4 separate regions of the Homo sapiens genome follow, and regions 1, 2 and 3 are each linked to region 4. The links are contacts of gene promoters, found by promoter capture Hi-C in blood cells and fetal thymus (Javierre and others, 2016). All regions are on one chromosome and are shown on one strand. The core of a region is centred on a gene start or on the middle of the fragment in contact, and the rest is flanking DNA. Distances in the headings are between cores, read along the strand shown.

The links. The method cuts DNA at HindIII sites, captures the fragments that hold promoters and counts their contacts. A CHiCAGO score of 5 or more calls a contact.
Region 1: a contact is called between the fragment with the promoter of TMTC4 here and the fragment with the promoter of ARGLU1 in region 4, in 3 of 17 cell types (non-activated CD4 T cells, activated CD4 T cells and naive CD4 T cells). The highest score is 9.4, in non-activated CD4 T cells.
Region 2: a contact is called between a fragment that was not itself captured here and the fragment with the promoter of ARGLU1 in region 4, in 3 of 17 cell types (total CD4 T cells, naive CD8 T cells and total CD8 T cells). The highest score is 8.6, in total CD4 T cells.
Region 3: a contact is called between a fragment that was not itself captured here and the fragment with the promoter of ARGLU1 in region 4, in 1 of 17 cell types (naive CD8 T cells). The highest score is 6.0, in naive CD8 T cells.

The regions. Positions count from the first base shown.
Region 1 is chr13:100,671,032-100,677,209 of GRCh38, forward strand. TMTC4 (transmembrane O-mannosyltransferase targeting cadherins 4) reads right to left here and starts at 3,764. Exons shown (of 19, transcript NM_032813.5): 1 at 3,713-3,764. RefSeq lists enhancers at 2,140-3,029, 4,355-4,434 and silencers at 3,145-3,224, 3,275-3,634, 3,665-4,164. The HindIII fragment of the contact is 7,703 bases long and covers 1-5,796 here.
Region 2 is chr13:97,426,682-97,433,872 of GRCh38, forward strand. No RefSeq gene overlaps it. Among named protein-coding and RNA genes, the nearest start is that of RAP2A, 3.9 kb to the right of the region's middle. RefSeq lists enhancers at 6,585-6,724, 6,672-7,191, 6,875-7,004, 7,025-7,074. The HindIII fragment of the contact is 3,897 bases long and covers 1,097-4,993 here.
Region 3 is chr13:100,577,936-100,584,373 of GRCh38, forward strand. GGACT (gamma-glutamylamine cyclotransferase) reads right to left here. Exons shown (of 3, transcript NM_001195087.2): 2 at 5,890-6,062. Among named protein-coding and RNA genes, the nearest start is that of GGACT, 7.6 kb to the right of the region's middle. The HindIII fragment of the contact is 3,266 bases long and covers 2,629-5,894 here.
Region 4 is chr13:106,565,526-106,572,285 of GRCh38, forward strand. ARGLU1 (arginine and glutamate rich 1) reads right to left here and starts at 2,612. Exons shown (of 4, transcript NM_018011.4): 1 at 2,048-2,612. The coding sequence starts at 2,394. RefSeq lists a silencer at 1,774-2,073 and enhancers at 1,968-2,878, 2,554-2,673, 2,684-2,753. The HindIII fragment of the contact is 1,462 bases long and covers 1,865-3,326 here.

The DNA.
Region 1 (6,178 bases), core at 2,514-5,013, 5.9 Mb before region 4:
GAAAATTAAATGTGAAGGAAAACAAATAATTTATAGCAATTTTAAATGCACAATAGAGTCATGAGCTGACAAAAGGTCATGTAACCGGTTTTGACGTTATCTGTTTTATTGTTTCAATAGTGAATTTATTGGCTCATGCAATATATTTTTGGAGATGGCGTCTTGCTATGTTGCCCAGACTAGCTTCAACTTTTGGGCACAAGTAACCCTCCTGCCTCGGTCTCCCAAGTAGCTGGGACTATAGGAGTGTGCCACTGAGCCTGGATATTATCTGCTTCAGGCTCAAATATTTGAAAATTATTTCACAAACGTTTGTCAAGGTTCAAATGGCCTTCTAAGTAGAATACTAAATCAGGAAATACTTTGTGCTCCTAAATTAGCGACTGTACCTCAGATTGCTTAGAACATAAACGTGTTCTAAGCAATATGTTCTAAGCATAATCATGTTCCAAGCCACAGCCCCAGGATATATAAGGCAGACTGTGGACCACACCATCAACGAGATGCCCTGGTAGGAGGCCAGGTCCAGACTCTTGGGAAGTCAAGTGGATGGCTGACTCAGTGGATCTCAGATGATCTCCTCCTCTGCTCTTGCAGGGACAGCAGGAAACCTGGCCTACCTCCAACGCCCCTGCCCCTACATCATTTCCCAGTTCTGGCTGGCTCTCCCCTCCTTGCTGTGACTCCCCTGCTTCTCTATCTCAGGGGGCTCCTTCTCCTTTCTCCAAGGCCTCCCACTTCTTTGCTGCCACTGAAAATACTCACAAATGCTCTTTTCTTTGAAGGGATTTACTGTTAACGTACATAGTGGAACAGTTTGGAAAATGCCTTTCACTAGCAAACGCAAAAAAAAAAAAAAAAAAGCTACAATTTGTTAGAAAGCCAGGCAAAGTGATCAGTCTAGTCCAGTGGTTGAGACCAAAGGCTCTGGTGACGGACAAACCTGGACTTGCCGGCTGCACGACCTTGAACTGCTTAGTCTTTCTAAGAATCAATTTCCTCACTGGCACAACACAGTACCACCACCACTTTCTTCAGAAGGTGGTGGTAAGGATTAAAGGAGAAAATGTATGCAAACAACTAGTTCTCATTATTGTTAGATTTTGGAGAAATTAGCCGCTGCTTCCCAGTCCCTGACTGCCTGTCTCGGGCGCACCCATGTTGCCAGTGTTTATTCCTGCAGATGGGCTGAGCACTAGGGCCAGCAGTAGCCCATCGGGTGACCTGGTGCGACTGAGAAAGGCGGGCCCTTCTTTTGGGCAGACCCGGGGCACATGGCTTCCTTGGTCAGGTGTCTGGCACAAACTGTACAACCATGCACAGTGACCTTGTTCCCAACTCTCCTTCCTCCAACACTAAACGACTTCTGTTCCTCAATGACCTGAGCCAGGCCTGGCACTCAGTTAAAAGAAGCCCTGTCTGAGCAAGGTGGCAGAGACGGGGGACCACCCTCTCTACATCCCTTCCCCCCTTTTTTTGAACAGGGTTTCACTCTGCCACCCAGGCTGGAGTATAGTGGTATGATCATAGCTCACCACAGCTTCACCTTACTGGGCTCAAGGGACCCTTCCACCTCAGCCTCCCAAGTAGCTGGGACTATAGGCATATGCCACCATGCCTGGCTATTTTAAATATTTTTTTGTAGAGACAGGGTCTCACTATGTTGCCCAGGCTGGAATCAAACTCCTGGCTTCAAGCGATCCTCCTGCCTCAGCCTTCCAAAGCATGGGGATTACAGGTGTGAACCACCGTGCCCGGCCTCCACCATTTTTTACAGTCAGGACATGAAATAGGAAAGGATGCTCTGTTTTCTTCCAGATGGGCCCTAGGTTGAACTTTCTGGTCCCTCTTCTCCACATGATGTCCTGCCTGGGCTCCCTGGCTCCTCTGCCATAGCTGGATCGTTAGTTCACCTTATGAAGCAACAAAAAGAGAGACCCACTGTGGCCTCTGCTACAGGCCAAGCAGAGGGCACAACCCAGGAGGAATGAAGTCAGTGTTCTGCTCGCTACCTGACTCCTGCGACAGAATCAACTGGCCCCTCAACAGGGGCTGAATCTGGAACAAAGCAGACGTCCCTTTATCCTACAATTTCTCAAACTTCTCATATCGAGCCTCTGTTTTCAGGAGGTTAAAACAAATTAATCATCAGTGAGAAGGCCAAAAAGACCCCACACAGGGACCCCAGAAAAACAAATGTCATCCAGCTGTGAACCATGAGGGCCCAATGACAGCTGACACGGCAGCCTGGACTGCGGTAAACAGAATGGCGAGACCAAACCTAAATGTTTCCCCTTGGAAAAATTAGCAGCAGCCACCTACAGAAGAATATTCCCCTCCATGCATCCAGGGGCCTGCTGACCTCTGCCCAGCCTTTCTACCTCATCTGTAACATTCAATCACATAGCCAGCCATCCTATGCACGCTGAGAGGTGACAGCGCCTCTGGGAATCAGATTAGAGAACACAATCGTTTGTGACCCTGCATCCCTGGGCCTGGCAGTTTCCTGACTGATCAGACCCTGGGCCCCTCAAGGCAGGGGCGCGAGCCACCACCACCGCCCTCCTCCGTGCAGTGCTGAATACATGCTACTGAAGGCTAAGGTATCGTCCTGCTGTGACGGCCTTCCCATTTTATAATTCAGTAGCGCACGAGGGCCATGGCTGCCTATAGCAAGAATGTGTGTGGTTTGATATTCACAGTTCCACTGTCCCAGAAAGTTTCCAGTTTGCTAGCTTGTAGCCATTTCCCCTATCTAGGTGCACTGGCCGTGATTTTACCCCACTCCATCTGGGGCGCGCCCGGCGCAGACAGGACTGCAGAGAAAAGGGACAGGGAGGGGACCTAGTCAGTCCCTACTATAACTGTTTCTCAAGACATTCTCCCCATGCATTTATTTGCTCTCCCGGGGAAAGAGCGAAGTGTGGGATGACTCATAGTGGCTAGATCGTTCCTCTAACTCCTCCCTTCTTTTGTGTGTGGTTTAAAAAAAAGAAAAACACACACGCAGCCCATAGCCACAACATCAACAAGACCAGAAGCCCCGCAGAGTTCGCAGGAGGTGGGCAGTGGCTGCGCCACCTGCTCGGCTTCCCCAAACTCCGAGCCCACGCCGGGAAGCGGCGGCTCGGTGGCCCCGGGCGCCCGGGCCGGTGGCCCCGCGCTCGCGCCGCTCCGCTCCGCAGCCGAGCGTGGAGTAGCAGGCGCTCGCGGCGCGGCGGGGGAGCCGCCGCGGAACCCAGGGCAGGCGGCCAAGCGGCCCGGCTGTGTCCAGCCATCGCCTGCGCCGCGGCCAGCTGGCGGCCAGGCGCGGGGCCCCGCGGCCAGATGGCCGCTCCGGGGACGCGCCGCAGGCGCCGGGTGCGCCCGGGCCGAGGGAGCGCCGGCGCGGCTGTGCAGGCAGGGGCTGGGGGCGGCGACCTCTGCCCGGGCGGAGAAGCTCAGGGGCCCGAGCGCGGCGGGCGGGGCGCGCAGCCTCCACGCCGCGCCCTTTGTCCCATGTGCGGCTCACACAGGGGCCCGCGTCCCCCGTGACCCCGGCCCGGGCCGCAGCTCAGGTCCCGGAACCAACTCCTCCAGCAGCGCCGCTCTGGCCCGGGCCGCCGTGCGGGGCTCGGGACACGGCGGCAGCGGGGAACCCGCGCCCGCTCCGCGTCCAACTCCGCTCGCCCCGCGGCGCGCTCGGCCCTGCAGGGGCCGCCCCGCGCGTTACCTGCAAGGAGCCTGAGCCCCGGCCGCATCTCCCTCCCGGGTGCGGAAACTCTGGCGGCTCCAGGCACCCGCCCGGACCTGGCAGGGGGAGGGGCCGCCCGCCGCGCACCCGACCCCCCCCGCGCCGCGCCTCCCGCAGCTCCCCACGCGCGCGGGCGCCCCCCAGCACCAGTCTCGGCCCGCCCCCTCCGCCCGACCATTGGCTGCTGCTCCCGTCACTTTCAGGCCACAGCCAAGTCCCTCCTCAGCTCATTGGCGGACGCGCCGGTGACGTCAGGCCAGGGGGCGCTAGTCGGCGGCGAAGGAGGCGCAGGGACAGACGGACCCGGCGGGAGAGGAGGAAGCCGGGTTGTGGGCGCGGAGCTGAGGCGGAGGCGGGGCCGGGGCGGGAAGGGGCGGCCCCAGCTGGGTCGGGCGAGGCTGGCTGCGGGAAACCGAGTGAGCCCTCGCTTTTCCTCCGGGGTCCGCGCGCGGGACCCTATTTCTGGCCTGTCTCGCGCTTCGCCTGCGCGGTGGTCTCCACGCTGGGACTGCGGCGTCCTCGCAGAACAGCCAGAACTCCACTTCTTCCTGTCCGGGAGGAGTTGTTTAAAACATGCGTATCTCCACCTTCTGCTTCTTAGAACAGAACTGACTGAAGCCGTGTTCTTCCCGCCGAGACCATGCCGCCCCATCGACCCTGCTGCGGCCAGAGCCACCCAGGGCGGGCCCACTCACCGCAGGCTCGGGCCACTTGGTTCCAAACCTCCACTCCCATCCAGGGGCCCGGCACACCCACCACACTCCCACTCTCAGAGGTCTTTGCCGCCTGCTTCAGGAGAAAAGAGAAACTTCCACTTTCCACCGGCAAAACTGCACACCTGCTCCCTCCATCACCGAGCCCCCCCCCCCACCTTCTGTTTTTCCAGTATCGCAGAATCCGATCCGTTGCTCCCTCTGGACTGGAATCCGTATCCTCGGCATTTCATCATTCCAAGATTCTCTACTCCACGTACCCTTGCTGCCACCCTCTTCTACTTTCCATCGCTGAAGTTGGTGAAAGAGGCGCCTGCCCCCAGTTTTGTGGTCTCTCAACTCCACGTGTTCGTTTTCACACTCGGTGAAATTGCCTTTTTAATTGTCGCAAGTAGCATCCACATCACTAAAGTCAAAGGACACTCTCCTTTCTCGTGTTAACTGATCTGAGCAAAATTCCTTCTTTCTCCTTAAAACACGTCTTCCTGTGGCGGGGGTGCTCCACTTTCCTGTCTGTCCCCAGTCTTGGCGTGCTTGTCTACTCTGGGTGACCACCAAATAACAGAGTTTTCAAGGTCTCAGACCTTTCCTCTTACTCCACAATTTTTCCCTGAATGATTTAACCTGCTGTCAACATTTAAATCAATATATCCCAAATTTGCAACTCTAATCTTTGCTCCTCTGAGCTCCAAATCCGTTTATCTAGCTTCCTATTCAGCTACTCCTGGTAACAAGCACCTCAAATGGAACCCATCCAAAACTGAATGCGTCCTTTCCCTGCTTGCTTTCAACTCCCTGTCTCCCTGTGATAGTGAAGACACCACTATCCAGTGTTTCCCAAACTCTGCCTTCACCTCGGCATCTAACAAATCGCCAAGATTCTACTTCCTAAATAACTCTGAAGTCTGTCCACTTCCTACCATTTCCAGTATTACGTATCATAATGTGCTTACTGCACGTGCGTTTTCCCGGCCCACACTCAGTGATGTCTCGTTGGTAGACTGTAATGGGCCATGGTCGAAGTATTTACACCATGGAAATTAGCCAACATTATGAATCATGAATCAGGGATCGATTTGTTTTGCTGATTGTCTCTAGACTTCAGAAAGTGATGGGGAAGATGTTAATAATGTAGATTAAACTTAAAAATGTGTTTAGTGCTGAAACAAGATTGCAGTTTAATGAGTTTATACAAGGGTAAGAAGTAGTTTAACAGATCACATATCAGATTTAAGGACAATAAATTTGTTGGCAAAAAGTGGATCGGTATGTAATTTCACTAGTCACATCATGGTTGAGTTACAAGCATTGGATGGATTCAGATACAAGCCTTTGGCAAAAAAGAAGCAAAGCTTTCTGTGAGAATCAGTCAAGTAGATAGAACTGACAATAAAGAGTGTCTGCCTTTTACTTGTGTATTGTTTATTACACATCCTTTATATCAGAAACATTTATAACACACATATGGTTGTATATATAGGTGGAAATAAAAAGCAGATGAGATTTTAGTCAGTTTTTTTTTTTATACTTTTAAGTTCTAGGGTACATGTGCAGAACGTGCAGGTTTGTTACATAGGTATGTATGTGCCATGTTGGTTTGCTGCACCCATCAAGTTGTCATTTACATTAGGTATTTCTCCTAATGCTATCCCTCCCCCAGCACCCCACCCCCTGACAGGCCCCGGTGTGGGTGCGTGAGGTTCCCCACCCTGTGTCCATGTGTTCTCATTGT
Region 2 (7,191 bases), core at 1,795-4,294, 9.1 Mb before region 4:
GAAAATGGCCAAAATCTTTATTAAAAACCTAACACCAGAGACCAGTCCCCAAAAGAATGTAATCAAGACAAAGTATAAAAAAATACTTTAACTTTCCTTGACTACCTGGTACACCAAGGAAATAAAAAGGCTTACTATTTCTGAAATGTCTCCCTCAGCTTCTCTCATTCAAACGTAGACTCTGATCAATTTCACCATCAATGCCATTGCACAGAGACAGCGCTTTGACTAAGTAAACAAGACATCTTTTTCAACTAGTGCAGCCCAATGAATGTGGTTAATAATTAAGTGACTAATATTTTGTAAGGCTGTGTGAGAAGCATTAATTAGGATAATAGTAAAAGATGGTGTACTGTTCTGTGAAAAGCAGGAAACCGATTTTTGAGGAGATAATTCTAGAGAGCAGGATGAGTAACTTCCCTTGACAAGATAACTGGATGGCTGCTGAGAAGAGTTGGATGGTCCTTACACCATAACTCTGCTCTGTCTTCCCCAAGATGCCTCCAAACCATTGCTGAACACAATAATGTGAGAAGCAGAAGAGAAATGGAAGGAATCAGACAAGGCATGCAGCTTCAAAGTTTAAAAAATTCTTATAATCTCATAAAAATTAAAAAGTATTTGAAATAAGTTTAAGAATCTAGTAATTGTAAAGGCTGTTATTTTTCTTGTTACACCATGTGGAGTGATTAACCTTATTGAAACAAATTAATAAGTGTATGACAAAAATACAGTGGATTTCCATGGCCTTCTTATACTCGCTCTGGGCACATACTCATGCCATGACTTATCCCCCAATTTAAACTACGTTCTTCTATTTTACTTTCTTCATTTTCTTTTTCATCCAGGTAAGCATAGTTGCATGCCCCGAAGTTGACAGACTGATGGTACAATTTAACTGTATATCTCCTACTTACATTTTAATTGGAAAAAAATAACTTTTACATCAAAAGACTAAAACCTAAGTGCAGAATTTCAGACAACAGTCAGTTGATAGAAGACATGATTTTTCAGATCTTTCCTGGCACTCCTAAATTCCAGGTCTACAAACTGCCATTGACTTTGCCTGTTGGAGACTTACTGTTTTTGAGATACAAGCTTCTTTGGAGATTAGACCAACTTTGGAGGACATTTACATCAACCTCACCTTGATTTGGGGAAAATCCTTATTCCTTTCCTTTTATTCTCATCTTCTCTGTGTTCAAAACCCAGGGTTTTTAGAAGCAACATTATAGTCCACTCAATTGCTCATTTATTTACAAACATTTTATGAATTCCCACAATTGTTTTTAGGCGATGTGCTGAATGCTGGTAAAGCAAAAATGAACAAAGCACTGTCCCTTTCCCCAGTCACTGGAGAAGACAGTGCAATCATGTGTTATTGGTGTTAAGACAGAAGTCTGTTCAGGGTTACACTTGGGGTCACAAAAAGTGAGTGGTAAATCCTACCTCCAGTAATATCAAGATGTGTTCATATACCTACCATAGCTTAATTTAAAAAATTCTTATATTTGTACAGAAAATAGCATTAGAAAAATTAGTACAACCATATTTGACCAGAAACCACATAATGCCTAACAAGTTCTGATTTTTATTACAAATATTTATTATTGTTGCTCTACTATTACATTTGGCACATCTATGGGTTTTTTTTTATTTCAAAAATGCTTTGCTAATCTGTAACTTATTATGACTTACAGCTTTTTTTGTTGAAAAGATTTTCCTACAGGAAGGTACAAAAAGGCATTCTAGTGAAAACATTTTAAATTACACTATTTACCAAAAAGCCTACCTTTATGTATTACTGCTCTATTGAAATTTTTCTTTTCAAACAAATTCCATTCATTTCTACATAATGCATGTCAATAACAGCTATCATGGAAAAATAACAAGCAAAAACTGTTTTTCTACCTGTCTTCATTTTTTGCCACTCCTCATGTTTCCTTCTATTTCTATTTGTGAAAGTTTGAATCCCTCCTTCTTGATGCCCTTAAATCCATAATTACTTCTTATGACAACTCTTTTGACGCCCACATTATAAATTATTCATTATTTTGAATGACGCCTTAATTTCAAATGCACTCTTGTACTCCTACTTTGTCTTCTGTATTTTTCTCCTATATTATTTTTATACCTTTAAATAATCTTGCTTTGAGACTTCTGGCATCTTTCTGTCTTTTTCTCTGAGAGATGCCCCTAGAATGCTGTTGCTACAGGGAATTTAAAAAATCAAGTGATTCTGGTATTTCCCTCATTCACTCTTACTTCATTCCTGCTTTCTTCCTTTGCTCTTCTGGTTCCTTACATCTAGAGTGCTCTCTTCTGCCCCATCTAGCCTGTCCTTTCGCCACTTCCTTCAAAACCTGATACAATATTAATTTGCTTCAGACAACTCTCCTGGACTAACCTACTCCAATTTACTGTTTCTCTCGACCTCTGGGAATGTCAGTAAAAACTATACATTTCATTCTCATTTACTTGGAAAGTGTTTGTTTTTGTAATTTCATTCAGTTATTTAGTTATATATTTTGTAATATTTTATTATTTATATAATTACTATATACCCTTTCTAATTCCTGATTTTTCCTTATTAGTTTTAAGCATAACCATTATTTTATAATATAAACATGTAATTGGTTGCTTAATATCTGTCTCTCCTGCTAGAATACAAGCTCTTTTGGCTAATTGCTTATTGTTTTATCCCCAGAGCCTAAAAAATATACACAGTAATTACTCAATTAATATTATAGTATCTTTGAACTATCGTTCAGATATTAGTGAAATGAAAGTGCTCACAAATGCTTGCTGATTTTTTAAAGCCCGATTTTGGCTGGAATCCCTCATACTTTTTGTTAACAGGTGGGATGTATTTTGCTGTAAGATGCAGAAAACCTTACCAACACACACTTAAATTGAAAGACACCAGCTGTTTACTTAGCCATAAGTCCAAATGTGGGCAGTTCTAATGTTGGTTTGACTGTCCAATGTTGTCATGCAGGACCTAGGTTCTTCCCATCCTCCTCCCTGGCCATCCGAAGTTGCTGGCTTTCTACAGTATTGCACCATAATGTCATAATGCATCATAGCCCCCAAATGGAGGCCACATTCTCATATTTCAATGTGTAAAGCAGGAAGCAAAGAGAGCGACATCAGAAAACGGGGATATTTCCTCACTCTTGTCAATATCCTAGAAATCCCTCCAGCCCTAGCAGCCTTCTCCCCATTCCAATGACAAGAACTGAGTCACGTGCCTACTTTTGGACTAACCGTGGGCAGAGGGAAAGCAATGCTATTAAAGTCCAATCCTGATTCATCCCAGCTTCTTTGGCAAAAATAAAGGGAAACTGCTGGGTACGCAAGCAACACTGTGCCTGCTCTTCTGCTTTGTTAAATGAACCACACTGAAGCTCTGTTTTCCGCAGAATCCTCTAGCTCTTAAGATTCTTCAGGCTTTTTCTTTTTTCTGCCTACATTTTAATCATTACGTCTTTTCTTTCAGATTTTTTTTCTGATTAAAATGGCCTTTTGAAACATCTACTCTCTCCACCCATACGTTTCTTTTATTGAGTTGTTTCCATACTCTTAATTTCTGCATTCTAATTCCTTTTCTTTTCAAAAGCACTGAGACATATCACATTTTTTAAAGGAAGAACAAAGTTTATTTTGCCCCTTCCTTTCCACTCCACATATATACTGCAGATTCTCAACTGTATTAGGAGCCTCACAGGTCAAGAAACCATCGTCTGCTCTCCTTATACTTGCCAGCAGCGTTTCACAGGTGCTAAATGTACTTGACATGCCCTTCCCCTTTATGTTTAATCAGAGGCATGCAGGCTTTAATAAGAAGCATTAGGAATCAGGGTTTTACAGTCGAAAAGTACCCCTCGCATTACAAACATCCTCTACTAATTTGTTTCTATTAAATTATCTGCATATTTGCTTCTTGCTGGTGTCAGGAAGTCCCAGAATACAGTACCTTTCCCACTTCATACCACCTTTTCCAACACCTTTTACAGAAAGAAAGGATGGACTTGGGTTTCCACGGTAACACAAGTGCGATAATTGAAGGTATCTGGCTATAGGTGAGATAACTCCCTTTCAGATTTAGTGGAGAGAGGAGAAATGAAGATTTTCTTTCTTTTTATTCTCCTGGCAATGCACTTTGGAAACTAAAGGGATCCTGCAGTGTCAGTTACTGCGTTAAGTTTTCACTATCTTACAGATTTACAGCTCTTGGGAATAATTCAAATTTCTTTTATATCATTTTTATTTTTTATTTCCCACAAACAAATGAAGATATAAGTTATTTCTATAATCATCTCAAAATAGAGTTTATGCTGGCATCGGAATGAACATGACTAAGGGGTTAGAAAATAGACATCCATCTCCCACCCAAGTCCTCTAAATTCTCTACACGTCCTGACATCCTTTTTATAGCAGCTAATCTTTCACCCAACATTTCACCTACAACCACAAATCAGGTAAGTACCATCATTTAAGCCAGAATAGGTGAGAAAATATGCTCCGACCTGTCATGTTTCTTTTGCCTCTTGGTGGTTAAAAATCAACCTTTATGGTACTGAGCATGAAATCTGAGGCCTGTCAATATAAGGCCTGTAAATAAATGAACTGTAACCACCCCAAGGGCTGCAGTCTCTATACCCCTTCTTATCAAAAACGTCAGCATTGATGAGAGGTCAGGGGAAATAGCCTGAGAAATGTCACAAAGCTGTCCTACTCTGTATTATGCTAAATGGAGTGACTACGGAGCCCACTCACTATTTTTGTGACAGCTTCAATCCAGAGCTTCTCAACATCTAGGGACCTAGGAGTCATGAAAACAGTTACTTAAGGCAACCTTCTGGACCCCACAATCCCAATACAAATTTCTCAAAAACATTAATCACTGGAACTTCATTCCTTGCAAAGTAAATGGACTTAGAGCTCCTTTGTAATGCAAGGTACTAGATGAGTTGTCATGATCTAGAGAGAAAGCTTCACGCTTCCTGGCTCTATTTAACAACCCTAAGAACTTCTTATCACCAAGATGCACAGTTAGAATCTTAAGACAGTCTGTCTTTCCTTGGAAAAGAAGTATAGCTTCTACTAACCCAAAGTAACCATGAATAAGCATACCAATTTTACACAAAATATGAGACTTCTGGAAAGCTAGGTGAACACCATACTTACCTACATCCTCTTGAAACATCCCTGCCAAAGTAGCTCAGATATGAAGCATCCATGTAAGCTCTTTCAATTTTAATTCACTATTTCATGTTAACTAGCCTAGGATGAAATAGTAGATCCTCTTCGGTTCCAGTTCCCTTAAAACAGTCCTGATTCTTAGTCCTTTTTATTAATATAATACCTTCACTGCTGATTCTGGTGGCTCAGATAGTACCATTCATATTTTAATGATATGTAATCAAGAAATGCTGAGTTATATTTTACTACATACACATTTTTAAATTCAGAGGACATTTGTCCTTGATAATTTTAAATGAAAACTTGGTGTGTGTTCATTACAGCAAGGTAATGCAAATATAAGTTATCCATTCTAATATAACGAAGCTATAGGGAAATAAGAAACTACTAAATTTGAGTAGTCTTTGTAGTAGTTTGACTATCGACAGAAAAGATGGTGAAAGAATACCTGGCTTTTAACTCAGACCAAAATCCCCTCTGCATGATGACCTTGTGGGAAAGAGGAACGGGGAGAGGTATGCCAGGCTCTAACAACAGAACTACAGAAACGTGTTATTCGCAGGAAATGTGCGACAGTAACGAACAGGTGAGACTAGTTTGAGAAGGACATAGTTTAAAGAAAGTAAACTGAATAACCAGTTACTGCAAAAAATAATGCAGGAAAGCTTGGGGATGTATCGTCTCCTAAATTTGACGTTATGGGTGGGAGAGGATGTGTAACTAAGATGCAATGCTAGCGACAGAACGCTAAGTTTTAAAACTCAATAGTGAAAGAAAAAAAATAATGTTTTGGGAGGAACGCCTGGAAGACCCATGCAACTGCTGCACGATGTTTCCTTAAGGACCGGAACATTTCTCACCCTGAAGACAAAAGTCCCTGTGTTCTCGATTCAGCCCACATCCCTCAGCACCATTTCCATGCCCATCATTTAGGCAGAATGCCACGGAGGCGACGTGAAAAGTGGAATTCATCATTCTGGCTTGCAACGCATCTTGTTCTTTTGCCAGAACAGGGCACAGCAACTGGCTCCTCAATCTCTGCCCCTCCCAAACCCCAGCAGCCGGTCCCTGTCTCCATCCCGCCGGCCTCGGTGGCAAGGGGCTCGCGAGCTCTGGTTGGCTTGGCCGAAGCTTCCGTCACTCGCCAGCTCACCTACGATTGGTTGGCAGAGCGTGCGCGAAGAGCCCCGCCTGGCAAGGCACTGGGAGGTGGGCTTGCGGATCCTACGACTAGCGTTTTTCTCGATTGGTTGAAGGAGTAAAGGCACGTGGTATGGGGGCGCTCTCTTATTGGTCGTGAATGGTACCTTGTGGTACAGAGACGTGATGTGGTTGGCTAGAATGAATCCCAGCTTCCCACTAGATGCCCCTAGCTGGCTGTTGCTATGAGGAGTCCAGGGCCTTCCGGCTGCCGTTCGGGATTCCGCTCTCCAGGTTTTCAACTCACCCGTGGCTGACAGGGCGTGGGAAGAGCTCGACTTCAGTTCGGCACCGAAAGGGGCGGGTCTAGAAGAAATGTGGGCGGGTCCAGAGGGTTGGTGGGCGGGACCCCGGCGACGTCAGCGGGCTTGGACCCGACTTCCGTGGTGTGTGGCCGCCTCTGACTCGCCCCTCTGGCGCGCTGCTAGAGGGGGGCGTCACCCTCCCATCAATGTCCTAACGCTCCAAAGCTTCATTTTGTTGCGTTTACACAACTTCAGTCAGAAGCCTGTAGGTGCCCCCCCCTTAAAGCTTCACATGCTAATACAAGATAAAACCAAAGCTCTAGGAGTGCTGACAGACTGGGTGGCATCGGACAAAGGCCCTCGCGGCCCCTCTTGGGCCTTGGGCATCTCTCCTTCACTCCCCGCCTCAGGATAAAGCTTGGAGGTAGCTCTAGCCCCTCTACCATCTCATCCCTTCCGAATTCTTAATGTCTCGGGAGTCTCAGGTTGACGCTGCTCCTGGCTTGGGCGGGAACTGCGCATGCTCGGTACACAGGCCCTG
Region 3 (6,438 bases), core at 3,012-5,511, 6.0 Mb before region 4:
GTTATGAATAAAGGGTGGGAATGATATTTTCACTTGCCTTTCTTCACCAGGGGTTCGTTATTTACTCAGGCACAACTAAAATATCAGAAGGGAAAGATAGAAAAGGGAAATGGATGTTTTCTAAGAGAGCCCTGATCACAAAGTTGACTCTGAAAACCATTCATTTGATAAGGCGATACTGGCATCTGGGCGTCCACAGGGAAATGTCCGAACACCAAGTGCACTCCTCTTTTCCTCCCACGGTAGTGGCTACCTTCACCTCTACAGCTCTAATCTCAAACACTGCCAATGGAGAGAGCACCTCCCTGGACACAAGTTTGTTCAAGATGTCTTTGTTATAGATATTCTGCCAATATTGTTTTTATTCTACATAATGAAAACATCCACTTATGCCACCACTACACCGCAACCTGAGAGTCCAGAATGTGTCGCATTTGCGTAAGATATCTGCCAGTTAGCCCAGATGGGAAGTGACACAGAGGCTCGAGAAAACCAGTGAGAGGCAGGTAACCGAGCTTCTGGCAAGCTCCCACAGTCAGTACATTCATTTATATCCCAGCTGATCTTAAGCCCCGGAACCCTGGTTCTGCTGGCTTACCTGTGAGTCTACTTGACTTCTGTTGTAAAAGATCCTGCTGTTCACAATTCTTCCTAAAATTACCACGTTAACCATGACTTAGACTTCGTCAATGTTCCCTCCAATGCCGTCAAACCATTCTTTGTTCATTTATGAGATATACTAATCTCCTCTTATAAGTTTTTATTAGGCTTTTATAATCTGGATCTAACTTTGCAGAAAACTAAATCAAGGGAGGAAGAGTAATTCAAAGCAGGCAGTTATGATTATTTTCAATAATGGCTCAAAGAACACTTTTCAAACCTCATTTAATGCTGGAAAGTTAATAAAACCATCATGAGATGTAAAAATATTAATTTTCTTTAACTTACCTGCCTCGTACTCCCAAGTACAGATGACAACAGCAGGAAGAGGTAATTAACACTCAAAAGCTTGAAAAGTAAATGTGGTCATTTGAAAAATGGACAGGAACACAGCATAATATGGGGAGTATTCCCGCATATACTCTTCCTTACTCTAATTTACTCTGGCCTGACTCAGAACATCAGTTCTGTAAAAACACTCTCGACTAGCTGGAAATGAGTTCTTTCTTACTGGGTGCCCACTATGTGGAAGGCATGATGGCGGACTCCGAATGAGGAAGGCATGGTTCTCACCCAATCAGAGCTCACAGCCCTGCAGTGTTTAGGCTAGCATGCAAAAACAATTAATTATGCAAGACAAAATAACATGAAATTCAAATAAAAGAGCAACTGCAGCAAAACCACCCCCAGGGTACGGAGGCAGGAGTACCCACAGCTGTGGGGAGAGGAGGGCCTAGGAGTTGAGGGGTTCAGCAGCTCAGTCTCTCTGACTTTCTCCTGCGTGTGTCTTGCCCCTCTCATCCTCCCCCAAGACAAACCACAGGATCCAGAACTTCTCTTCCCCAGTGCAGGTGACAGGAACCAGAACCCCTTTCCCCAAAGCCAGCCATAAAACCTAAAAATACTACTCTCTAGCCTTCCCCATGCCTTTCTGTATAACAGCTGGCCATAAAGACCTTGGACAATGAGACCCTCATTCCAGAGGGTCCTACCCCATTCCTGGAAGGAAGAAATGCTACAACAGAGAGGCCAAGAAGAACCTGAGGAGACAGGCCTTGCTGGGCTTCCCTACTCGGTCTATTTCCATCAGCTCACACCCTTTTTTCCAAATGAATTTCCACATGGCGGTCTGTGCTTCTTCACATCTAAGCAAAATCTGGAGAGTTCACCCTGGGTCTCTGGGTCTTCATTCTGAAAGCTCCTATGTCATTTAAAACTATGATTGAACACGTTTTGCTTTTCTATTGTTAATCTTTGTCATTGGGGTGTCAGCCATGACCCTTATGACAGGGTAGAGAGGGATCACCCCCTTTCTGCCCCTACAGAGTGAATCAGAAGGTTCTGAGCACCGTTCTGCTGATGGAATTCACACGTGGAACTTAGGTCTCCTGTCAGCCCAAAGCCCCCTCCCTTCAGCGCTGAGGAAAGAGGGGCCTGCTGGGTCTAGACCTGATGGGTCTGCCTCGGTGTATAAGAGCAGCAGAAACACACCTCGGGGATTGGCACCTGGTCTTACTCTGCCAAAAATGCCTGGGGATCTGCTCTGATCCTGCGACTGCTGCTGCATCACAAAGTGAGGCTGACAGAACAAAGGTCCCCAGCAAACATGTCCATGCCCTAATCCCTGGAACTTTTGACTATGGCACCTCGCACGGCAAAGGGACTTTGCACATGTGATTAATTAGGGAAGCTGAGATGAGATCATCCTGGGCAATCTACACGGGCCCTGAATCCAATGGCAAATATCCTTATGAGGGACAGAAGACAGACACCGAGGAGGGGGCCATGTGAAGACACAGCAGAGCCGGGAGGTGTGCGACCACTTGCCGCAGAACGCCTGGAGCCGCCAGAAGCTGAAAAAGGTAGGGAAGGACTTTCCATACAGCCTTTGGAGGGAGGGCAGCCCTGACAGCACCTTGATTTCTGGTTTTGGATTCTGTGAGCAGAGAATAAATTTTTGTTGTCTTAAGCTTCCCAGTTTGTGGTAATTTGCTATGGAAGCCCTAGCAAATGAACACAGTTACTAAGTAACTCTTCTGTGTCAAGTCAGGATAGCAAAGGCTGCCTTGGCTTAGGCAGAATAAAACAGCCAGGGCTCACAAGTGATGGAAGAACTGCCAGGGGGAAGCTATGAAATCTGCACCCTGTAGATCTGACTGTTAAGATGTTCTCAAGGTAGTAGGATCTCATTTCAGCCTGCCCAAAGAAACTTTCACCTGTTGGCCCAGTCTACAGTTACAAGACTAAAGGCAAAAGGAACTGTGTATATTCATAAAAACCGGGCTCTCGTTGTTTAAGTGGTTCCCATAGGGCGAGATGGCAATTCCAACACTGTGATACACACATATGTACTGAACAAGTAGGCAAATGTGCCACAGGCAATGGGAGCCACGTTTCTCACTGTTGGAATGGGAGGTGAGAGACAGCAGGGAAAACGCAAGAGTGATCCACGGGGTAAAGGATTAGGGCTGGAGACACCAGTGTGGACTCACAGAAACAAATGGTTCCATACAGAAGTATTTAGTGATATGTGTATATACACAGGTCAGTACACACAGACATTTCCTTGCTCCATCAGCTGAGAGGACCTAAAAGCAATGCCACCACAGTCGAAATGAGCACACCAGCATCCAGCTTGTGGTTTCTAACACCATCTCCAACAGAGGGGACCAGGGTTCCCCAGAGAAACGGCTGAACCTAAGACTGAAGCAGGAAATACACAAGATCAATCTAGGGCATCTAGCAATATTGGAAAGCAAGGAAGTGCTCAAAAATAAACAAACCCACCAGCCCACAAAGATGGGACAAGTTGAAAGGACACAAGAGACAATGGAACAGGCTCCCAATGGCCAAAGCAGGAACAACTGGAGAACAAAATAAGGAGTATTGGATTAGAACCTAAAGTATAATATAAGTATCTGTGAGTCCATAATGATATAAATGGCTGAGTAAATAAATGCAAGAAAACAGATAACCCTCCTGCACGGAAGAATTCCAAATAACATATGTAGACACTTTCCCCTTAAGGAGATGAAGCCTAAATAACTCCTCCCTTCAGAAGTGCAGGCTGCTCACTGTGACTTCCTTTCAGAGCACAGTATGAAGGGAGGGGGAAAGTGTGACTTTACAGTGGAGAAACCTGCCAATCACTATTTCAGTCAGGTAATCAAGATCAACAGCAAAAGAGAGAAGTCATGTAGACAGTATGTGTGCTTGATACGATGTAGCAAAAATGACACTTTATCTCCATGGTCTTCCTCCCAATCCCCACACCCCTGTGGCAGTGACTCTGTGGGGTGAGGGCTAAAGCAAATAATAAATTATGCTGGGTTGTTCTGAACTGAGATTTCTGGAGTGGAAGAAAGGGGTATGGATATAAGTTCTATGACATTAAGCAAAAACGTTGTAGTCCAGAAAAAGACTTGGATGTTACCAGTATGCGCTCATGAAATATTTTATCTTGAACAATGGTTTTCCCTGTCTCTGTCTGTTGAAATGGCTTAAAAACAACTGCCAATCCAACAGCAATGAGCACCTTATTAGGGCCAGATTATGGCCTTTAAGTACCATTTTTCACTTTAAAACAGCTAACCAGGGCTCCTTGGAGAAACAGCTGATTTCAGATTTGGGGCAATAAATCTGACCATAACTTCCTCTTACTGTTGGGAGGAACTTCAAAACTTATGATGACCTACAGAATCCTCTCTCCCTGGCTCCCTCTCCAGTCCCATCTCCTCCCTGCCAAGGACTCAGCCACATTCACCTTCTTTTGTCTCCTCAAATCTGTGGTTGGCAGAATAATGGCCACCCAAAGATGTTTACATCCTAATCCCTGGAACCTATGAATATGTTAACTCCTATGCCAAAAGGGACTTCACAGATGTGAGGACCTTGAGGTGCAGAGATCAATCTGGATTATCCAAGTGGGCCCAATCTAATCAAATGAGGAATCCTTAAAACTGGAAAACCTGCCCTGGATCAGATCAGACAGATGTGACGACAAAAGCAGGGTCAGAGAAGGGTAATATTGTTAGCTTTGAATATGGAGGAAAGGGCCAATAAGCCAAGGAATGCAGGTGGCCTCTAGCAGCTGCAAAAAGGAAGAAAACAGATTCTCCCTAGAGCCTCCAGACAGCTGTTATTATACACATATTTTTAATTAAAAAGTCCAAAATCACCCAGCTAGTAAGTGGCAGTGTCAGGACGAGAAGCCAGGCGGTCTGACACAGAAGTTGGTGCCCTTAACCATGATGCTAATATTTGTCTCCCACATAATAGAAATTCCAACACCTTTTTCATTCATTAACATGATACCCTCCAGTGTTCAGAATAGCTTAATAAATAGCTGCTGAATATGAATGAATGGGACAAAGATATAACTTCCCCCTGCTATTTTTTTCTTGGTAAAAAAAACTGTGTTATGGAAAGTAAAATATGTACAAAACTAGGGTAATGATAGAAGGAACTCTCAAATACTCATCTCCCAACTTCAACACTTAGCAACATACGGCCAATCTTAATGCCAACATTAGTTTGGTATTTATTGTCTGGAAATACTCCCCCTTCAATAATCTTTTTCAGAATCACATGTTCCTAGCTCTCATTACATTTTCATTTATCTGTGTTAACACGAATTTTTAAAAGAAACCTTAAAATGGGCAAGTCTTTCTAAGCAAAACACAAAACAAAGACACTATAAAGGGGAGATCGATATTTTTAAGTACATAAAATTAAAATTTTTTGCAAAGCCTAGAGACTGTATTACACAAAGTACAAAAAATAGGGTGGAAATAGTTATAGTACGTATGACAAAAGATTAGTATTCTCAATGTATAAATAATTCTTATAAATCAAAAGACAACCCCAGAGAAAAACAGATGAAGAAATGAATATACACTTTCTCTACTATTCTTTCCTTCCCTTTCCCTCCTCCTTTAATTTTTTGAGACAGGGTCTCACTCTGTTGCCCAGGCTGGAGCACAATGGCATAATCAGTGTAATCACAGCTCACTGCAGCCTCAATCTCCTGGGATCAAACAATCCTCCTGCCTCAGCCTCCTAAAGTGCTGGAATTACAGTACAAGCCACCGTACCTGGCTCCCCACCACTACTATTCTTAAATGACAAAGAGACAAGGGCTTCCAACTGGCACTATTTGTCAGCATACTTCTTGTGGTGCTCTAGAATTTGAGCAATGAACACTCTAGAACAGAGGCTAACAGTTCTCACCTGTAAGCTTGTTTCTTCAAGGAAGTGTTGCCTTAGAATCCAGATCCACAGTAAGCCTGAGAGTCTTAAAAACTTTTGACTTCAGAATCCTTCCACATGATTCAAGAAAAAGTTAAGTCCACTTCACAGGGTGACCAGAAAGTCCATGGGGACCAAATATCCAGTTTTCAGTCCTGTTGGGAGGTGAGATAAGAGGAAGTCAACTGAAGAAAGTTAAACATTTAAGCAATAAGGGGCTTACAAACAAACATAAATGACCTAACTACCATTAGAAGGCAATCTCAGACCCTGGGCACATACCCAGGGAAGGAATATACTTATATTCAGTGCAAAAATGCAGTCCACATGCTTGAGGGGCCAAAGAATGCCTTGAATAGAGGAACCTTCCCAGTGACCTAGAGAAAGGGTTCAAAGTTCTCAAGACCTCCTTGACAAAATGTGGTACATATACACAATGAAGTACTATTCAGCCATTAAAAAGGAGATCCTGTCATTTGCAACAATATGGTGCAGCCGGAGGTCGTTATGTGACGTGAAATAACCCAGACA
Region 4 (6,760 bases), core at 1,362-3,861:
TTTATATTAACAGTACCTAGCACAGTGCCTGGCACTTATTAAATGCTCAATAAACATCAGTTAAATGAATAAAATAACCAACAGGATATGTAGACTGCAAACTGTTTCCTTACACTGCCAAAGCTCCAACACTTAAGTCTTTCCATTGTTTCTTTTGCATTGTTTCCAAGACATTAGAATATATTAAATAAAATGCCTATTGTACGGCACCCAGGAATTTAGAGTACAGGTGGCTGCTAGTCCTGGTCCCTTCTCCCTCCTAAATACTATTGGCAGTTTGTGTCTTCTCTCAAACCAGAGAACCATATAGCTCCTCTATTTGCCGTATTTCATTCCTGAATTTCTTGTCTGCTATACATGCGAAACCTGCTAAATGCTTCTATTTATTCTTTGCATACCAAGTTTCTTTTCATTTTTCCTACATATCTTAGCTTTCTAGTGAAAGGCAAGTTATTACTCTTTGGAGGTCTCCTTTGTTTTCACATGTAGAAATTATCTCAGCAATGTCTTAGGTAACTTTTCATACATCCATCTGTTGATAGCTATTTGAGATCTTTACAGCTAAGGGCCTTGTTGCAGACCCAAAAGTTGTATTCTACAAAATCAAGGTTTAATTTGAAACGATTACTTGAACTTTGTTTTCATATGTATCACTGACAGTTCTAAGTACAGGAAAAATGAGTGTTGCATGTGTTTTAAAGGAGTGTTGGAAGCAAAACAGCTCCAGGTACAGCTTCCTCTGTAATATTAGTGCTCCAGTCCTACCTTTTAGTAACTTTGGTTTTAGAAACAAGCTGTGTGTGTGTGCTGGAAAATCTACCTAACACAAACCCAACTACAGAAAACTACAAACCACGCAGTCAATTCAGCACACATATACTCGCCTCGAGAAAATCATAAATTCAGTAACGTTCTTGCTTCATGAGCACTTTCTAAATATTCACTGAAGAACTGACCAAGTACGGCTGGTTCAATAGGGAGTTAGTAGGACTGTTCAAATCTACTTTTCAATGCGGTTTTTGGAAACTGAATACCCAGAGCATCAAAGTACGATGATCATAAAGCAAAACACACAACAAATCCCTAAATTTTAAAACCCAAAAATTCCTTTAGTTTGGGATTATTTATCCACATCTACTTTCATAGCCAGAAATACTTGAGAGCTGACATTTTCGGAAACACACTCTAACTCTAGTTTTCACTAAATATCCTTCATGGGAGCAACGCCAAAATAAAATCAACCCTTCAAGTGTCTTCTGAAGAAGCACAGTGTAAGGGAAACAACAAAACTGCACGTGTTTGCTACAGGAATAGAAAGCAAGTTAAAAAAGCGGTAGGCTTTGGGATGGTGATTACACAGGTGAATTCAAAGGTCAAAAAACTCATCGCACTGTACACTTAAGGTCTATGCTTTTTTTTTTTAACATCTCAAGGAAGGGGTGAGGGTGTAGGCTCAAGGGGAAAAAAGCAATCCCAACACCTTAACAACAGGAATACACTAAAGTGAAAATGCATTTTTCTGGCGGACCACCTAAAGTGTATGATTCCCGAGATTAGTTAAGTCCTGTCCCAAATTTGAGCTTCAATAGAATGCTTCTGGCCAGCTGTGATTCGCATCTCAAAGGTTAATTCCCTTCTCTCTCCTCCTCAAGCCGACCAGCAAACGCTCACCACCCTCCACATCTGCAGGCCGGCTCGCTCCCGGCCTCACAAGCCAACGCAGCTCTCCGACCTCACTCCGAACTCCACCCCTACTTCCGGGACACCACTCCTCTCTCGCGCCAAAATCGCCTTCTCTTAAACCCTTTCTGCTCAAGCCCTCGAATTTTCCATCCCGAACAACTTCTGGGTCTGTCCCACCCCAAGCTTTCCAAACGCCAAGCCTGCCCGCCCCGCCGCCGCCTCTCCGACCCGTTCCCGCGCCCGGTCCCCAGCCCCGGACCGTCCCCGCCATTCTCCCGGCCCGCACCGTCCCGCCCCGGCCCCACGCCCTCGCCCCGCGCCCTGCTCTCCGCACGCCCCGGTCCCTCCCCGCGCGGGCACTCACATTTTTCGCTGCCGCTCGAACTCCGCTTTCTTCTCCTCCTCCTCTCGCTTCTGCTTCTCGTCCAGGCTGCTGCGCTTGCTCACCGTGCGCCCGAAGATGTCGATGCGGTCGGGCGGGGACGAGGCGCGCTCCCGGTCCCGCTCGCGCCGGGACACGGCCGTGTTGGTGGAGCGCGAACGGGACCGCGACTCCCGCCGCCGGTTCCGTTTACTTTCCCGAGATTTGGAACGCTTCCGCACGCGCTCCTTGTCCCGGGATCGCGACCGGGACCGGCTGCGCTTCTTGTTGTGCTTGCTGCTCTTGGTGTGCTTGGAGCGGGACGAGCTCCGGCTCCGAGACCGGCCCATCCTTCCGGGAGACGCTCTAACCGCTCGCCTCAGGCCCCTCACGCGGCCAGTTCCCCTCGCCTCCGCCTTCGGACGCGGGCTGGCGGTTCTACCGAGGCCGGAGGAAAGAAAGGTGTCGGCCAACGGACTTTATGCCTTTTCCCGGCGTCTACAGCTGCCACGAAGGCCGCCTCCAACGAGAAACCCGTAGCGCCAGGCGCCCCTAAGATGGCAGCTGCGGCTGCACCGGCCGCCCTTCCCACAATGCCCTGCGCGAAACGTGCCGAAGCGTGGGCCCCGCCTCCTGACGATTTTTGCCGAAGGCAGGCGAGCGCTTCGGAGCGGACTCGTTTTTTTCCGCCAGTCTTGGCGGAAGCCTGAGACGCAATAGATGGAGACTCTCCTTTTCGCCTTGGCGTACTCTTTTTTTTTTTTTCCTCCCTGGTAAGATGCCAACGCCTGTTGAATGAATTAAGCACGTTTTAGTGGGATTTAAGTCCGGCCTCGCAGAAGTTGATTGATTGCATTATTTTCTAGGAGCTGGTCTTGTGGGGCAGCCCTAAAATGTATCTCCAAGTGACCCTGCACTCATCACTTGCTGCCTTGGACTTAGTTTCCTCATTCGTAGAATGGAGACACCACACTTTCTGAAGTGCTTATGAGACTTGCAGGAGGTAAGTAGGCAGCAGGTTTTGATGAATGTAACCTAATGCTTACTATAGGGCTTAATGTGCCTTCTAAATGCTTTAATGTATTAACAAGTGCTTAATTCTTACAATTCTGAATTAAGTACTACTATTATCCACGTTTCAGAGATGAGGACCCTGAGGTCCACAGAGGTTAAATAAGGGTCACACAACCAGTAGGTGACAGAGCAGGGACGTGAACCTAGATCATATTGTGCAAAGCCCTTGCACATAACCAGCAAGCCCTCCTCAACCCTAGCCACGAAAAGCTTCGTCCCTATGTGGCACAACAAACTGTGTCATTGTTAAGACCTAAAAGGAAAAGGCAATGTTAATATTTGCAGATGACAGGAACCCTTGAAAATCTAGGTGCCTCAATTTTAAAATTGAGTGCAATAATAAAGCTTAAGTAAGTAGAAGAAAAATTAGAATTATTTGAATAAGCAAAAACATATTAAAAATGAAATAATATTTCCTCCACAATGGCAACAGAAACCATAAAATACTTAGGGATAAACTTTAACAAGTTACACAATCTTTATTATAAACCTTTACTGAAAAGGCAGTAATAAGGCCCTAGTAAATGTAAAACATGCTGTATTCTTAGGTGAGTAGTCAGTATCAAAAATACTGTCAATTCTTCCCAAGTCAAATTACAAAATTAGTGCAATTCTCATGAGAGTCCCAAATTCTCTTGGGGATATGTGTTTTAGAACTAATTAATTTTAAGTTTTATATGGAAGATCACATAATTAATTATCAAGAAAACTTGGAAACAAAGAAGAGTAGTGTATTAGTCTGTGTTGACTGCTGTAACAAAATATCATAAACTAGGCAGCTTATGAACAACAAATTTATTTCTCACAGTTCTGAAAGTTGGAAATCCAGGATCCAGGTGCTAGCCAATCTGGTCGCTGGTGAGGACCCAGAGATTCACAGATGACTCACAGAAGGCACCTACTCACAGTGCCCTCACATGATAGAAGGGGAAAGCTAGCTCTCTGAGCTCTCTTTTAGTGGCACTTCTAGGGTCTGAAAGTTTGTGTTCCCTCAGATTCATATGTTGAAACCTAATCACCAGTGCAATAGTATTAAAAGGTGGGGCTTTGGGATATTGATTAGGTCATGAGGGCTCTAACCTCATAACTGGAATTAGTGCCTATCTCAGCCCATTTCCACTGCTATAACAGAATACTTTAGACTGAGTGATTTATAAATAATAGACATTATTTCTCAGAGTTCTGAAGGCTAAGAAGTCCAAGATAAAGGTACCAGCAGAGTCAGTGTCTGATAAGAGCTTGCTATCTGCTTCCAAGATAGTGCCTTGTTTTGCTGGGTCCACAGAAGGGGACGAACACTGTGTCCTCACATGAGGGAAGGGATGGGAGGCAAAAGGGCAAAAAAAAAGGGGGGGGAACTAGGACACTCCTGTCAACCTCTTTTGTAAGGATACTATTCCCATTCAAGAGGGTGGAGCCTCATTTCTTAATCACTTCCAAAACGGCTTCAGCTCTTAATGTTATTATAGTGGATTTTAGGCTCCAACATAGGAATTCTAGAGAGACACATACATTTAAGCCATAGCAATGCCCTTATAAAAGGGGCCCAAGGAAGCTTGTTCACCCGTTCTTTACCATGTGAAGACATAGAAAAAGGTGTCATCTATGAAGCAGAGAGTGAGGCCTCACCAGACACTGAATCTGCCAGTGCCTTAATCTTGGACTCCCAGCTTCCAGAACTCTGAGCGATAAATTTCTGCTGTTTATAAATGACCCAGTCTGAGGTAGTCTTATAGTAGGCTGAATGGACTAAGATAGGAACTAATCCAATTCATGAGGGCAGAGCCAGCAGCCTCACCTCCTAATACCATCGTCTCCCAGCTGCCCCGCCTCCTAATACCATCGTCTCCCGGCAGCCCCGCCTCCTAATACCATCGTCTCCCGGCAGCCCCGCCTCCTAATACCATCCTGTCCCAGCAGCTCCACTTCCTCATACCATCATGTCCCAGCAGCCCCACCTCCTCATACCGTCATCTCCCAGCAGCCCCACCTCCTCATACCGTCATCTCCCAGCAGCCCCACCTCCTCATACCATAATGTTCCAGCAGCCCCACCTCCTAATACCTTTGTCTCCTATCAGCCCCACCTCCTAATACCATCGTGTTCCAGCGGCTCCACCTCCTAATACCGTCATCTTCCAGCAGCCCCACCTCCTAATACCATTACATTGGTGATTAGATTTCAACATCTGGGTTTGGGAGGGCACACAAACATTTAGACCGTAGCAAACAGTACCTGTTTGCCCTACACAAAATTGAATAAACTGAACAACAAGATTTTAGGACAGAAATAGGAAAACAGTGCAATAGAAGGATAGATCTATTCTTTTACTTCAGATACGTTCAAGTAAAATCACATTTAATATAGAATGTATAGAATTACCCCCATTATAGTAGAAATATTTCTGTCAATCTAACCATCTGTCTGTACGTATCTGTACCTATCTATCCAGTGGGAATGATATATATGGTTTATATATCCATATATGGTGTGAATATATGATATGATGTATAGATATATCTGGAATTTTGTTTATATATATGTATATTACATATATATATAATCCAGAATGATGTCTGTTTAATGATAAAGATAGTTATTTCCAATGAGTTAGTGTATAAATTTTCTAGAGCTGCCCCGACAAATTACCACAGACTGATGTCTTAAATGAACAGAAATGTATTCACTTACAGTTCTGGAGTCCAGCAGTCCAAAATCAAATGTCAGCAAAGTTGGTTCCTTTGGAGGCTCTGGAGAAGAATCTGTTCACTGCCTCTCACTTAGCTCCTGGTGCTTGCTGGCATTCCTTGGCTTTTAGTCCCTGTCTCCATCTTTACTGTACGTCTGTCCTCTTCTTATAAGACCACTGGAGATTGGATGTAGAGGTATAGGGGATTATGGAGCTTTTAAAAGAGGATGATATTGGGGCGGGCGTGGTGGCTCATGCCTGTAATCCCAGCACTTTGGGAGGCTGAGGCGGGTGGATCACAAAGTCAAGAGTTCAAGACCAGCCTGGTCAAGATGGTGAAACCCCGTCTCTACTAAAAATACAAAAGTTAGCCAGGCGTGGTGGCGGGTGCCTGTAATCCCAGCTACTCAGGAGGCTGAGGCAGAGAATTGCTTGAACCCAGGAGGCAGAGGTTGCAGTGAGCTAAGATCGGGCTACTGCACTCTAGCCTAAGTGACAGAGCAAGACTCTGTCTAAAAAAAAAAAGATGATATTTACCCTGCTCAGGCTCTGGCCATGTCTTTTGGCTGCTGCCAGGAAAAAAAAAAAAAAAAAAAAAAAGGAAAAAGTGCATGAAAGCCCTTAATTTACCAGGGATCATCTCTGAGGATGCATTGAAGGAATGAGGAACACACACATTTTATGCCTGCATTTTATAGTATAATTATCAAAATCTTGACATTTCACACTCCCTGAACTCACCTTATTTTCTCATGTATTTCTTTATTGACTATTTTTTGCCACCAGAATCCAAATTCTCGGCATCTTGACTGTTTTGTGTCCACTGACACCCTATGGGTTAGCTAACCTCGATAAATATATGCCGAATACACCTTGAAAGAAGAGAATTGCATGGTTTTTTATCCTAAGTATAAGTTTGGCTTCATTTGTTTTGTTTTGTTTTGTTTTGTTTT